Linked DNA regions of Homo sapiens: regions 1, 2, 4 and 5 are each linked to region 3. The links are contacts of gene promoters, found by promoter capture Hi-C in human tissues and cell types (Jung and others, 2019). All regions are on one chromosome and are shown on one strand. The core of a region is centred on a gene start or on the middle of the fragment in contact, and the rest is flanking DNA. Distances in the headings are between cores, read along the strand shown. Region 1 overlaps TPTEP2-CSNK1E (TPTEP2-CSNK1E readthrough). Region 2 overlaps TPTEP2-CSNK1E (TPTEP2-CSNK1E readthrough). Region 3 holds the start of SLC16A8 (solute carrier family 16 member 8). Region 4 overlaps TPTEP2-CSNK1E (TPTEP2-CSNK1E readthrough). Region 5 overlaps DMC1 (DNA meiotic recombinase 1).

Region 1 (2,700 bases), core at 127-2,626, 280 kb after region 3:
ATGCTATACACGAGAGACAAAAACTAAATTTAAATGACAATTCAAAAATAAAGAGATAGAGGCCAGGCACGGTGGCTCACGCCTGTAATCCCAGCACTTTGGGTGGCCAAGGTGGGTGGATCATGAGGTCAAGAGATCGAGACTATCCTGGCCAACATGGTGAAACTCCATCTCTACTAAAAATACAAAAAATTAGCTGGGCGTGGTGGTGCGTGCCTGTAGTCCCAGCTACTCACGAGGCTGAGGCAGGAGAATCACTTGAACCTGGGAAGCGGAGGTTGCAGTGAGCTGAGTGGCGCCACTGCACTCCAGCCTGGTGACAGAGCGAGACTCCGGCTCAAAAAAAAAAAAAGAGAGAGAAAAAAAGATATGAGATACTAAACCTTAAAACACTTAAAAGTTCCAATATTAATATCAAAGTTGAATTAAAAGCAAAAATATTAACTATGAACATGACTCATTTTTTATCAATAGAAGGTGGAAGCTACATGACACTAACAAGACCATGTTTAATGAAATGGGATTTGTATTGAAGGCAGGTGCTATCTCTCCCACTGGACACATTTTTCTCTTGTGCAGACTCTGGGGGTAGGGAGGTGGCCATGATGAAAAGCACGAAAAACACTGTAGTGACTCTGGTCTTCCTGCTCCCTCTAGATCACTAAAACAGGGTAAGGACAATACAGGGGGATGACATGTTCATGCTGAAAAAACTATGAGTCACTTAGGAGAAAAGTAAATTTCTACACTTTATACCTTAAGACAAAGTAAATTCAGGGCAGATATTTTATTTAAATGAAGAAAATAAATTCAAAACAGAAATTTTGGTGAATATGTTTAAAATCTTGGGGTAAGAAGGACTTTCTGAGAATAACATTAAAGGCAAAATCACAAAGAAAAGTACAGATACATTTGATTACATGAGGATGAAATGCTTTTATATAGTGAAAAGCAAGACAACCTGGGAGAAATTGCTTATATTACATAAAATAGAAAAAGGATCAATAGATTTAACTTTTCAGTCCAAAGACAGAAAAGGATAAATGAAGGTGTGTCAAAGAACGTGCATTAGAACAAATATATTTACTAATATCAGAGAAATCAATGATGGCTAGTGTTAAGTGTGGGAGGGGAGAAATGTACACTTTGCATCTTGATGTTAAAGCACATATCAGTATCAATAGCGTCACAATCATTCCCTTTGACACAGAATTTCCACTTCTGAGAATTTATAACAAGCAAATAACCAACAATATACAGAGATTTAGCCTCAAATATATTCATTTTTGTAACAGTTAAAAACTTGTAAAAAACTTAATTGTTCAGCAATATCTGACTATTAAATAAATTATATATAGCACATCTACACCATGAAATATCACACAACTGTTACAAATAATGTTGTAAGTGCACATGAATATATATTAACAAAAAAAATGATGTCATTAATAAGGTTATTTACAAAAGAATAAGTATGGTCTCATATCTGTAAACAAAAAAAGTATATGCTTGAAGAACTTAGAAGTGCATGCATCAAAGCTTAAGAATGACTATATGTGGGTAGATTTGTTGATTGTATTTTCTGATTTTCCTTTAATGACCTCTTACGTTATTTTCAGTTTTTAGAATAAAACCTATTTACAGATCTACAGAGTTTTCGAAGTATTTTTGCATGTTATTTTCGTTTTATTACTAATTTTTTACAATACAATATCCAGTACATAGATTGCATTATAGCCAGTTTACATTTGAATAATCTGAAAGTTAAAGAGGGTTAGTGACTTGCTGAGTATCAGGTGAATGAATATATGATATGCCAAAGCCAAGCACTGATTCCAGCTTTTACTATAAATCCAGTATCATCCCCCTGGTATGAAACACCAGCATTTCTCACAGGGACTATTGCAAATTCCTCCTATATCTACGTAATGAGACTTTGTAATTTAAAAATAAAATAAAATGAAAACCTGCTTTATTTTGTTTGGAGTCAGGAAAGAAGGAAATGCTTGCCTTGCTTAATCTAATTTTGTTTCAGCCCTGGGCAGCTCCATTACAGAAAACGTATAGCTAATCTGCAGACACACAGTTTAATTCAGTGGCAAATTCAGGGTAATTTGAAGAACTACTTGTATTTGCCCTCTTTGTTTCCAATCTTTGTTTAGACACCAACAGCTTACAACCATGGTGAGTTAACTTCCTCTATGGCCGTACTTCCTCTCCAGCATTGACACAAGCTGGTGAATGGTTATACAACTGGGCAAGAAAGAAGCAGAAGAAAAATCTCCTGAATATGTCTGCAGTTCAGACACAAGCCAGTTTAAGAATGTATTGTTTCATTACAGTAAGTACATGATAAAATGCCTTCAGGTCAGTGCAACAGGAAGTACTCTAGTGAGATTAGAAACAAATAAGAATAAAATCCCAATGAGCATAAAGAGGTCTTTAGTCAGCAAAATATGTTTGCTTTTGCTATCAATACTATTTGCTCATAGGCAAAATCTACAAAATTGGGAATCACACCATATCCAGTAAAAATGAGAAACGTTCACTATTGATGAGTTAAGTAGCATTCTGCATTCCTGTTTTTTTTAAAAAAACTTTTAATGGAATTAATTTCCTCTAAGAATACTTTTTACATTTTCAAGCTAGAAGAACATTTATTTCTGAATGGATGGAATTTTTTTTCAAAATAATACTTGT
Region 2 (2,700 bases), core at 185-2,684, 310 kb after region 3:
AAAAAAAAGATTTCAGCAAATTAATTAACTGTTAATAAACTGTTCTATCTTTACCTGCACTAACTCTCTGCAATGAAAACACTGAACGTGTGTATACACACATCTATCTATATATATATACACACACAAATAACTATACCCACTACTAGACCAGTACACCATACCACTTTTTCCAATGAGCGCTCTGAATTAAACACAATTCAAGTAACCTAGCTAAATACAAGCTTAGGCAATGCCTTTTAAGGCATAAGATCATTCTTCTGCAAGATTTAAATATTCCCCTCCCCATCCTATCTTTTGCTGACTACATACTAAAGTTGTATATCTGGCTCTTTCCAGTCACCTGTTTGCTTTCAAAATCAAGGGGGAAAGTCTCCTTTCAATTAATAATACAATCATTGTTCAGTCGATTTATAAACTGAAGAAAAACTCTATATTGATTACAAAAGAAAGAAACACTTCTTCAGTATAACTGAGATGCTTTATGTTATCCTTATTTGATAGAGGTAGAAGTAAAAGTAACTATTATTCCTAATGCTGATTCAAGAAATGTCTAGAGTCTACATTTCCAGTCCATTTAACTACATTTTAAATTCCAAAGGTTTCCAGACACACCAGAAAATAATGGAACACCAATACAGAAACACTACACGAGTCTGTTAAAAACCTAGCTTCTGAGTCTGGGGGAGCTTTTCTATAGGAAGTACAGTCATGTGGAGGTCAGAAACAAGTTTTGTAAAGCTTAATAAGAACAAAGGCTAAGTAAGGAATCCAACTAACTCTCTCATACAACTTCTTCAGCTGCCCTTTCAGGTTTAGTAATTTTACTTCTCAACTTTATCATAAAATTACCAAACTGTCCCCAAATTTCCAGTAACTCAATTATGCTGATACCCTGGGCAGGAAGTAATGGAGATGTTCAGAACAGTCAGTCAACAAATGTTCAAATGGAAAGCATTCCAACATTAAATATAAAAGGGTAATATGTGGCGGCAGCTGGCTAGCGGGGGCTTCCCCCCTATTTATCTGGAAGATAGATGTGTACAATAATTGAGCATGTCATCGTGAGCTGCAGATTTTAGGAAAGAATGGTCCCTGTTCTTCCACTTTCTTAAAGTCAGATTTCTATCTCTCTTCGTGGTCTAAATTCAAAAACCTTTGCCCCAGATACCACTGCAAATTTGTCTGTTATTACTGGTTGGGGAAAAATAACCCAGTTCACCTTACTCCAAAAACATGAGCATTTCAGAAAAGTTTTTATTCTGCCTCTAAAATGAGGCCATTAAGTGATATTCAATAATCAGGCTTCCTTCACCCGAATTCAAGAAATTTCCTGCCGTCTTTGTGTAATAAACTTTTTTCTTCCATGTGCATTTTAATTTTAACACCCCTCCCCGCCGCAGAATCTGGAAAAGAGGTGTGCGGATCAAGACCCCTCCACCCGCCATTGTCTCAAGTTTAATTTACATGCTGTAACCAAACCCTTCACTCTTTCGAATATTTAACAAGATTGAGATTCCTTTAATTCCATGTTGGTAGCTGTTCTGTAAATACCTTTCAGGTTTTTATTTTTTAATATCCCAGTAATCTAAAAACTATTCTGTTGTTAGATTTCAATTGAAGGAACTGGATTTAAAATCTTATTACGTTTATTTTATCAGTGGAATACTCAGTTTATGCAACTGTCTCATGTTTTTCATTCCTACTTTCTAATTCTAAGGCTTGAAAACAGCCATTGCTCAGTCCTTCAGCTTCACCTTCCCAATTCATTCATTAAACATTCTGCTCAGGGATTAAACTGAAATGGGAAATTAGGAAAGAACCATTTAAAACAAATCATACCCAGCAACCTCAAAATCTATAACATACAGGCCATATGGGCATACAGGAAATGGGACAATTTGAATTTTTTTTTTTAAGCAAATGGAAACAAAGCTTCATATAAAACATAAAAAGGGTCCAATCATTTACTTTCAAATAGAGTCAGCTAAAAGTAGCTCCTTTTTTAAAGTGGCATCTTTCAGGCAGTCAAGAGTCATTAAAACTACTCCAAAGTTCTTATCAACCAATATCATGTTTGTGACAACTGTGAGAAAAGAATGTAATTTTATAAAGTGGGAAAACAGCACATCTTTTGGGACCCCTGAGGCTCTAATCAGGCATCTCAGAATTAAGAGTGCTCCAGGGTTGGGAAATGGCTACCCTGCTGTGGCGAAAACATGCCATTTCATAATAAACGTTGTTAAGAGAGAAAAAAGTGATAAGCATGTACCTGCAATGAGGAGATAGAACGACTTAGTCATTGCCAGGCCATTATATTCCTTAATTATTTCATCAGTCTATAAGTGACTTGATGATTAAGTCTTATTTTCAGATTTCCTCCAAAACAAGTCCACTGGAAGGGGATTAGGGGCTCCTACTCCTCCCTGAACTTTTCCTGCCAAAAATGGAGGCTCACAAAGAAAATGCAAATCTACCCCCACCTTAAAAAAGTAAAGGCAGTCAAAGTCAAAACCTTCACTGCTCCTCCTTCCTCCCCTACTACGTGGAAAAAAATTTTGACCTGTTACCAAAATAGATTCCTCAGGGTAAAGGGGAGAAAAGTTTTCTACAAATTTTTTCTAAGTGGTGTATTAGTTCCTTTTTTTGAGTAAGAAGTGAAAGGGAATAGGAACCCAACACAACTGCTAAACTTCGATC
Region 3 (2,700 bases), core at 20-2,519:
CTGGGCCAGCAGCCTAGAGAAGGAGGGGGATGGAGACGAAGCATGGGGAAACTGAGGCACAGGGCTACCCACGTGAGGGTGGCTCAGGTCTGGGAACCAAAAGGGGAAACGGAGGTAGGACTCTCACCCCAAGTCTCCTTCTCCTGCAAAGGGCGCTGAAGGACGAGGGGAGGACGACGGGTCCCACCTGACTCTGCACCTCTGCAGGCTCCCTCTGAAGGACAACTGCTGGCCCCTCAGGGCCTCAGGTGGAAGGCGTCGGGAAGTGGAGCAGGTATGTGCCTGGAGGTGGGCGTCCAGCACCAAAGTCGCCCCGTACGCGTGAGGGTCTCGGGACAACAGAACAAACAGCAGAGGGGCAGATGCCGGCTGCAAAGGGCCGCTGTGCGTGATTTTCCTCTTTAGCCTTCCGCCATGTTCCTAATGTTTCTCAGTGATCACAAATGACTATTGTCATTAGAACATTAAGGGGACAAAAGCCACTTTCAACAGATATCAGCCAGGGGAGCTGAGTTCCCATGCATCTCAGCTCAGCCATGGATTCCCTCCCTGACTTGGGCCGGTCGCCTCCCCTCTCCCAACCTCCCTTTCCTCCGATGTAAGATGGGTGATTGATCACCCCGAGGCCAGCTGGGAATCTTGCGGGAGAGGAGTCAGGTCTCTGGCTTCTGCCAGACAGGTAGGAACCTTAGCAGCACTGAGAGAGTGGCCTTCTGCCCTCCAAACCTCAAACCCTCTATATGAAAAGAATGGCTCCAAAGCCTGTCTCATTCCTGGGGCTCCACCCGGGGCCCTCACAGCAGTTACAAGCGCCCCCATAACAGATGAGGAGGGTGTACTCAGAGACAGGTGCACCAGGAGCCGGGGGCTGGGGATAGCCTCCTGCCCTCCTGCCTGGAGTGTCCCTCCTGGCACTGGGCAGTGCCACCACCCCCAGGGTATCCGGGACTCTGCCCCTCCTCCACTAGGACCAGGTTGTGGCTTTTCCTGCCTGTTGTCCTCTTGTCACAGGGGCAGCCACTTGAAGGTGGAGACAGGAGGGTGATCCCAGGCAGCCCTCACATCACACTCACCTGAGCCTGCCTCGTGGGTTTGGGGGTCCAGCCTCACATCTCCTGAGGCCTGCAGGGAGGGGCCGCCGCCGCAGCTCCCGGTGAAGCTTACCCGGATGGGGGCTGCCAGACACCCCAGCTTCCCACCAGCCTGGGCTGAGCCTCTGGCCGACTCCCGCCTGACGCTCCCTGCCCCAGGCCTGGAGCTTAGAGTGTGTGCCCCCACCACACCTCACCCCTGCTAAGAGGCTTTTGTCCAGGAGGGGAGAAGAGACTGGGAGCCCCAGGCCAGGCTGGGCCTCGGCGGTGGGCTCCCTGTCCCAAGCCAGTCCAGGAGGGAGGAAGAGAATCCCTGTGCCTCCTGGAGCCTGGGGTGGTAGACACAGAGACCTTGCCCAGGGGGTCCTAGTCTGGTGCTGGGGGCACAGCCCTGCCCTGAAGAGACCCCAACGGTTCTAATCACCTCAGTGCCTCATCTGCCCCCGCCCCAACCCCCCGCCCCAGGCCACATTCCAGGAGGGGCTGGCAGCTTTCTCTAGAATGAAGCTAATCCACGCCTGTGCCTGGGAATGTGGGGGGGGGAGGGGCCAAAACAAAGGGTGCTGTGTCCAGGCCGCCTGAGGGCAGCTTGCTGGTGGTCCCAGCCCTTGGCCACTGCCACCTCTCCCCTGACCCGAGCAGCCGCTACTTCCTAGGAAACCCACAGGTCGAAATGAGAGCAGGTGGAGATGGGGGCTGCAGCGCGAGGGCTTTGGGGCAGCCCTAAAGAGTTCTCCAAACAAACAAACAAGGGGCTGGGAGTGAGATGGCTTCCCGGGGAACAGCCAGGACCTCAGTACCCCCTAGACCCCATTCTCCAATGGGGGAGTCTCTATCCCTCACCCCCTGCCCTGTCCCCCAAATAAGACACCACCAGTCCTGCTGCCGCATCACTTTGCGTCCACTTCCTTTATTTCTCATCATTTACAAAAGATGTACAGAGAGGGCATGTGTTGGGCACGGAGCAGGTACAAGGGGCTCCTCCCCACGGGGGCAGAAAAGGGGGAAAGAGGTTAGGGGGCAAGAGGTGGGCCCCCCAGGGAGAGTCCTGGAGCCCCTGGAGGGGGAGAAATTGTCCTGTCCCCCCATTCCGCCTGCTTTACTTTGAAGGTCTCGGACCCCAAGCCAGTGCTTTGGAGCTGCTCAGGCTGCCGGGGTGGTCTGGGGAGGGCAGCCACCCCCCGTCTCAGGGACCCGCTTCTTGGATCTGCTGCTGTTGCTGCTGTCGCTGCCATTGCCAGCTCTGAACAGCCCCTGGGCAGGTGCACTGTGGGGTACGACCTCGGACCCCGCCTCAGCGGATGAGGGGTGCTGAGCGGTCATTGGTGATGGTGGGACGAAGCTTGACAGTGGCAAAAGGATTTGTGCCCCTGTAGGAGGAGAGAGAGAATGGGGTGAGAAGGGCAGATGATCCCCACCTGGCCATGGCTCAGGAAGGCAGCTGGGCAACTGAGCTGGGTCCTGCCTCCTGCCCCTATTTGGTCTCCATCCACTCCTTGCCCCGCTTCATCTTTTTTTTTCTTTTAAGAGATAGGGTCTCACAGTGTTGCTCAAGCTGATGTTGAACTGTTGGAATCAAGAGATCCTCCTGCCCCAGTCTCCCTAGTAG
Region 4 (2,700 bases), core at 22-2,521, 260 kb after region 3:
CCTGGGACTGTTCTAAGGGCTTTTCATGAGCTGACTCATTTAATCCTCTCAACAACCCTCTGTGGTTGGCCTTATATTATGTTCCTCCTTTTCAAATGAGGAAACTGAGGAGGCCCCAAAATGGTGGTGGTGCCACCTTTTTTTTTTTGAGACGGAGTCTTGCTCTGTCGCCCAGGCTGGAGTGCAGTGGCCCAATCTCAGCTCACTGCAAGCTCCGCCTCCCGGGTTCACGCCATTCTCCTGCCTCAGCCTCCCCAGTAGCTGGGACTACAGGCACCTGCCACCACGCCCGGCTAATTTTTTTATATTTTTAGTAGAGACGGAGTTTCACCATGTTAGCCAGGATGGTCTCGATCTCCTGACCTCATGATCTGCCCACCTCGGCCTCCCAAAGTGCTGAGATTACAGGCGTGAGCCACCGTGCCCGGCCGAGGTGCCACCTTTGATGCATCGGTTGCTAATTCACGTTGGGAGATCCTGGAGGACCGAGAAACCAGAAAACACGGTTCTTGCTCTGGTAAGTGTAGACATGGACAAGGTGATCAGAGCCATAAGAGAGAAGGGATGGGAGTCACGAAGTCTTCCCAGAGGAGCTTCACTGCAGCTGGGCCTTCAAGTATGTGTAGGAGTTTGCCAAGGCAGTAAAGGCAGAGGCCCACCAACTGAGTCAGGCCTGGGGTGCGATTTGGGCCGGGGCAACGACTCCATTCCTCATCACAGACAACCTTCCATGAATCTCTGCCCTTGGGCAGGAGGAAGAGGGAGAGGGTGTGGCTTGGCCCATTGCATACTTGGAGTCTGTAGACAGCATTACAAGATGAGGATTGCTGAGAGCTCTGGACTAGGAGTCTGAAGATGAACCTTCTTCTTCTTCTTTTCTTTTCTTTTTTTTTCTTTTGAGACAGAGTTTCACTCTTGTTGCCCAGGCTGGAGCGCAATGGTGAGATCTCGACTCGCCGCAACGTCTGCCTCCCGGGTTCAAGCGATTCTCCTGCCTCAGCCTCCCAAGTAGCTGGGATTACAGGCATGCACCACCACGCCCGGCTAATTTTGTATTTTTAGTAGAGATGGAGTTTCTCCATGTTGGTCAGGCTGGTCTCGAACTCCCAACATCAGATGATCTGCCCGCCTCGGCCTCCCAAAGTGCTTGGATTACAGGTGTGAGCCACTGCGTCCAGCCCTAAGCTGAACCTTCTGTGGGCTGCAGAAGACGCCTGGGTGCTGTACTCAGGTGCAGTCCCTCCCCTCAAAGGCCTAAGATAAACGGATAGAGATGGAACTGAGGGTGAGTCGTTCCCAGCCCAGAATGGTGAGAGGTCACCCAGCTCTGGTCCTAGCTCCAGCTTCAAGATTCAGACCACAGAGATTCACCCGGACCATTGACTTGAAAAGAGCCCCAGCAAACTTAGATTCAAAGTGCCCCTTGAAATATATGTGTATTTGCTTCTATGTACATACAGCATCTCTGGATGGGCCCAGAAGAAAAATATTTGCGAGTCATGCTTTTTTTTTTTTTTTTTTTTTTGAGACAGAGTATCGCTCTTTTGCCCAGGCCAGAATGCAGTGGCGCAATCTCGGCTCACTGCAAGCTCCACCTCCCGGGTTCACGCCATTCTCCTGCCTCAGCCTCCCGAGTAGCTGGGACTATAGGCGCCCTCCACCACACCCGGCTAATTTTTTGTATTTTTAGTAGAGACAGGGTTTCACCATGTTAACCAGGATGGTCTTGGTCTCCTGACCTCGTGATCCGCCCGCCAAGGCCTCCCAAAGTGCTGGGATTACAGGCGTAAGCCACCGCACCCAGCCCATGCTTTCTTTAGTATATAAAAAGCAGTTACAAATCAATAAGAAAAATACTAATAATATAATATAAAAATGACTAAGAATAGTAAGAGACTGTTCCTAGGAAAGAAAATACAAAGGTTGGGGACAGGGTGGAAGGGAAACTGAGAGGGAAGGAGACTGTACTGTACCCTCTTTGGTAACTTCTTTTTTTTTTTTGAGACAGGGTCTCACTCTGTTGCCCAGGCTGGAGTGCAGTGGTGTGATCTTGGCTCACTACAACCTCCGCCTCCCAGGTTCAAGCGATTCTCCTGCCTCAGCCTCCCAAGTAGCTGGGATTACAGGTGTGCACCACCACGCCCGGCTGATTTTTTGTATTTTAGTAGAGATGGGGTTTCACCATGTTGGCCAGGCTGGTCTCGAACTCCTAACCTCAGGCGATTTGCCTGCCTCAGCCTCAAAGTGCTGGGACTGCAGGGGTGAGCCACCGTGCCCGCCCAACTTTTGAATTTTGATGTCTGTGAAAATATTTTCCATTCCATAAATCGAATTAAATTAAATGACCAATTTCCCCATTTTACAGAGAAGGAAACTGGGTCAACAGAATCTGCAGGCTCCTCTCCCACAAGGCCCAGGGTGATGGCAGAATGGTGAGGGAAGGGGACCTGCCACCAGGCATCCTTGGGAGGGCGCTCCCCTTGGCTTCCTGATTGAATGCTCAGCTGCCTCTCCAGTTTGCAGATGTGGAAATGGAGGCAAAGAGTGCGAGAAGGACACCCCAGGCTCACTGGCTGGGGTACAGTGGGGACCTAACACCCTCCTTGAGCCCTGTCACCACACAATGCCACCCCCAGCTAGGCATGACCAATTTCTCATTTTACTGGCGCCGGCCTTCTTCAGCGTCAACTTTCTGGTCGT
Region 5 (2,700 bases), core at 21-2,520, 460 kb after region 3:
GTAATAGATAATATCACTGAATTATAATTCAATAACTGCAAAGTGAATTAATTCACTCTCTTCATACCCCTCATTCCTCAATATGAAATAGTTTATTATATTATTAATCACATGTTGTTAAATGATAAATTTGACTACATGAACCAAAGGGTCAAAAAGGTAACTTCAAGGGCCCAGAAGAGAAATATCGACCAAAGGTTTTTTGTTGGCATAGGTTTTCTTTTTCTTTTCAAATCTTACCTGGAAAGTATATACAGTTTAAAATCTACTTTCTTCTAAAGGAGTTGTTAGCTTTTTTTTTGTTTTCTCCTCCTTCAGTCTCCTGAGTAGCTGTGATTACAGGCGCGAGCCATCATACCTAGCTAATTTTTGTATTTTTAGTGGAGACGGGGTTTCACCATGTTGGCCAGGCTGGTTTCAAACTACTGACCTCAAGTGATATGCCTGCCTCGGCCTCCCAAAGTGATAGGATTACAGGCATGAGCCACCATGCCTAGCCAGGAGTTGTTAGCTTTCTGAAATTAGCAAATTCATAGGGAAGCAAACTAAGTGCACCTGCAAAAGTATTCTGGAAGAAGCTAATAATCACTTATACCTATAAACTATAAAGGAGTAATAAACATTTTTTTTAGGTCTTTGGTGATCCCAACAATATGTCTGAAGTAAAATGAGGTAAAATTAAATGCATGTTTGTAACCTTATTTCACTTTGTTTATAGTGTTTACATAACACTGATCCCAGTATAAGTAACTGTAAATCAAGGACCATTTATAATCTTATTTGTGATGTTTGCAATTAATTTAAATTCCCAGCCATTTATATCCTAATGCACTAGATATGTTCTTGTTGTTAGAGCTTTGGTGACAGCCACAAAAATCTTCCATTGTTATTGAGTATACCCAGTAGATGTTTTTGGTGGACAAGTTAGACAGGGAATTGGAAGAGGCAATAAAAACATTTTCATCATGTCGGTTTCTACAAATCCCAGATACTATGTTGTGGCAGGCCAGGTCTTACTAATGCAGGCCTCCATAACAACTGTTTCAGCACTGACTGAGTGGTTAAGTTAAATATTAAAAGCTGAAAGTGCCCTTATACAAAGGCTGGAATGTAACAAAAGGCCACCAAGAGTTTTGCCCAGGCCTTTCCTGGGCCTTGAAGCATGACAAGATAATGAAGAAATTCTTAACAGTACCTGTTTAGGATTAAACGAGTTTTACTGGGGGCCTGAAGAAACTCCCTAGGTCTCCACAAACAAGTTATTGGGGGTCTGAAGGAACTCCCCAAACCTCCATGATTTAGCAGGAGATAAGATAAGGGTAATCACCCCAGCACCTGGACCCATTTAGATTAAGTAAATTTACTGAGGCTCCAGAGGAATGTCTTTAGGACTCAGATCTTAGTTATAGATCAAAAGAAGTTAATCACTTATATATTTTTAAAAATTTTTATTTTATTTTTTTGAGATGGAGTCTCACTCTGTTGCTCAGGCTGGAGTCCAGTGGCACAATCTCGGCTCACTGCAACCTCTGCCTCCCTGGTTCAAGTGATTCTCTTGCCTGAGCATCCTGAGTAGCTGGGACTACAGGCGTGTGCCACCATGCCCAGCTAATTTTTGTATTTTTAGTAGAGACAAGGTTTCGCCATGTTGGCCAGGATGGTCTTGAACTCCTGACTTCAAGTGTTCCACCCACCTCGGCCTCTCAAAGTGACTTATGTCGTTAGATGAATGCACACTTACAATAAACATATAGCTGAGAAGGTATATAAGTTCTGGAAGACTTTGTAATTTTGAGTTGGTCTGGTGTTATTTTCCAGGTCTTCTCCCTGTAACCGGTTACGGAAACAAAAACTCCCTCCTTTCCCAGTTCATTTGCATCTCATTATTGGGCCATAAGAATAAGCAGCCTGATCCTCAGTTTGGTCTGGGAACAATGTGACCGCGGGTGTAAAACTTGGGCTTAAATCCTCAACAAAATACTAGCAAACCAAATTCAACAATACATTAAACAGATCATTCATCATGACCAAGTAGGATTCGTCTCAGGGATGCAAGGATGGTTCAACATATACAAATCAATGTGATATATCAACAGAACGGACAAAAAACATATGATCATTTCAATTGATGCTGAAAAAAGCATTTGATAAAATTCAACGTTCATTTATGATAAAAAAAAAACCCTCAAAAAATTGGGTATAGAAGGAACATAACCCAACATAAAAACCATACACAACAGACCCACAGCTAGTATCATACTAGATGGGGAAAAACTGAAAGTCTTTCCTCTAAGATCTGGAACAAGTATGCCCACTTTCACCACTGTTATTCAACATAATTCTCAAAGTCCTAGCTAGAGCAATCAGACAAGAGAAATAAATAAAGGTCATCCAGATTGAAAAGGAGGAAGTCAAATTATCCTTGTTTGCTGATAATAAGATCTTATGTTTGGAAAAACCCAGACTCCACCAAAAAGCTATTAGAACTGATAAACAAATTCAGTAAAGTTGCAGGATACAAAATCAACATACAAAAATCAGCAGCATTTCTAAATACCGACAGGGAACAATCTGAAAAAGAAATTCAAAAATTAATCCCATTTACAATAGCTACAAATAAAATTAAAGACCTAGAAATTAACTTAACCAAAGAAGTGAAGGATCTCTACAATGAAAACTATAAAACATTGATGAAATACA

The links. The method cuts DNA at HindIII sites, captures the fragments that hold promoters and counts their contacts. A contact is called where the count stands out against the background at its distance.
Region 1: a contact is called between a fragment that was not itself captured here and the fragment with the promoter of SLC16A8 in region 3, in 1 of the 25 tissues and cell types used here (spleen).
Region 2: a fragment that was not itself captured here is called in contact with the fragment with the promoter of SLC16A8 in region 3 in 1 of the 25 tissues and cell types used here (dorsolateral prefrontal cortex).
Region 4: a contact is called between a fragment that was not itself captured here and the fragment with the promoter of SLC16A8 in region 3, in 1 of the 25 tissues and cell types used here (dorsolateral prefrontal cortex).
Region 5: a contact is called between a fragment that was not itself captured here and the fragment with the promoter of SLC16A8 in region 3, in 2 of the 25 tissues and cell types used here (dorsolateral prefrontal cortex and lymphoblastoid cells).

Annotation. Positions count from the first base shown.
Region 1 is chr22:38,367,127-38,369,826 of GRCh38, forward strand. The region is part of intron 3 of TPTEP2-CSNK1E (TPTEP2-CSNK1E readthrough); the gene reads right to left. It also overlaps the pseudogene TPTEP2. Among named protein-coding and RNA genes, the nearest start is that of TPTEP2-CSNK1E, 30 kb to the right of the region's middle. The HindIII fragment of the contact is 7,743 bases long and covers 1-2,700 here.
Region 2 is chr22:38,392,865-38,395,564 of GRCh38, forward strand. The region is part of intron 1 of TPTEP2-CSNK1E (TPTEP2-CSNK1E readthrough); the gene reads right to left. It also overlaps the pseudogene TPTEP2. Among named protein-coding and RNA genes, the nearest start is that of TPTEP2-CSNK1E, 4.7 kb to the right of the region's middle. The HindIII fragment of the contact is 3,049 bases long and covers 1-2,700 here.
Region 3 is chr22:38,082,915-38,085,614 of GRCh38, forward strand. SLC16A8 (solute carrier family 16 member 8) reads right to left here and starts at 1,270. Exons shown (of 6, transcript NM_013356.3): 1 at 1,074-1,270; 2 at 128-447. BAIAP2L2 (BAR/IMD domain containing adaptor protein 2 like 2) reads right to left here. Exons shown (of 14, transcript NM_025045.6): 14 at 1,986-2,461. The coding sequence ends at 2,386. RefSeq lists an enhancer at 754-1,535. The HindIII fragment of the contact is 9,296 bases long and covers 1-2,700 here.
Region 4 is chr22:38,343,488-38,346,187 of GRCh38, forward strand. The region is part of intron 4 of TPTEP2-CSNK1E (TPTEP2-CSNK1E readthrough); the gene reads right to left. It also overlaps the pseudogene TPTEP2. Among named protein-coding and RNA genes, the nearest start is that of CSNK1E, 27 kb to the left of the region's middle. RefSeq lists an enhancer at 1,021-1,520. The HindIII fragment of the contact is 5,046 bases long and covers 1-2,700 here.
Region 5 is chr22:38,539,847-38,542,546 of GRCh38, forward strand. The region is part of intron 8 of DMC1 (DNA meiotic recombinase 1); the gene reads right to left. Among named protein-coding and RNA genes, the nearest start is that of DMC1, 29 kb to the right of the region's middle. The HindIII fragment of the contact is 5,470 bases long and covers 1-2,700 here.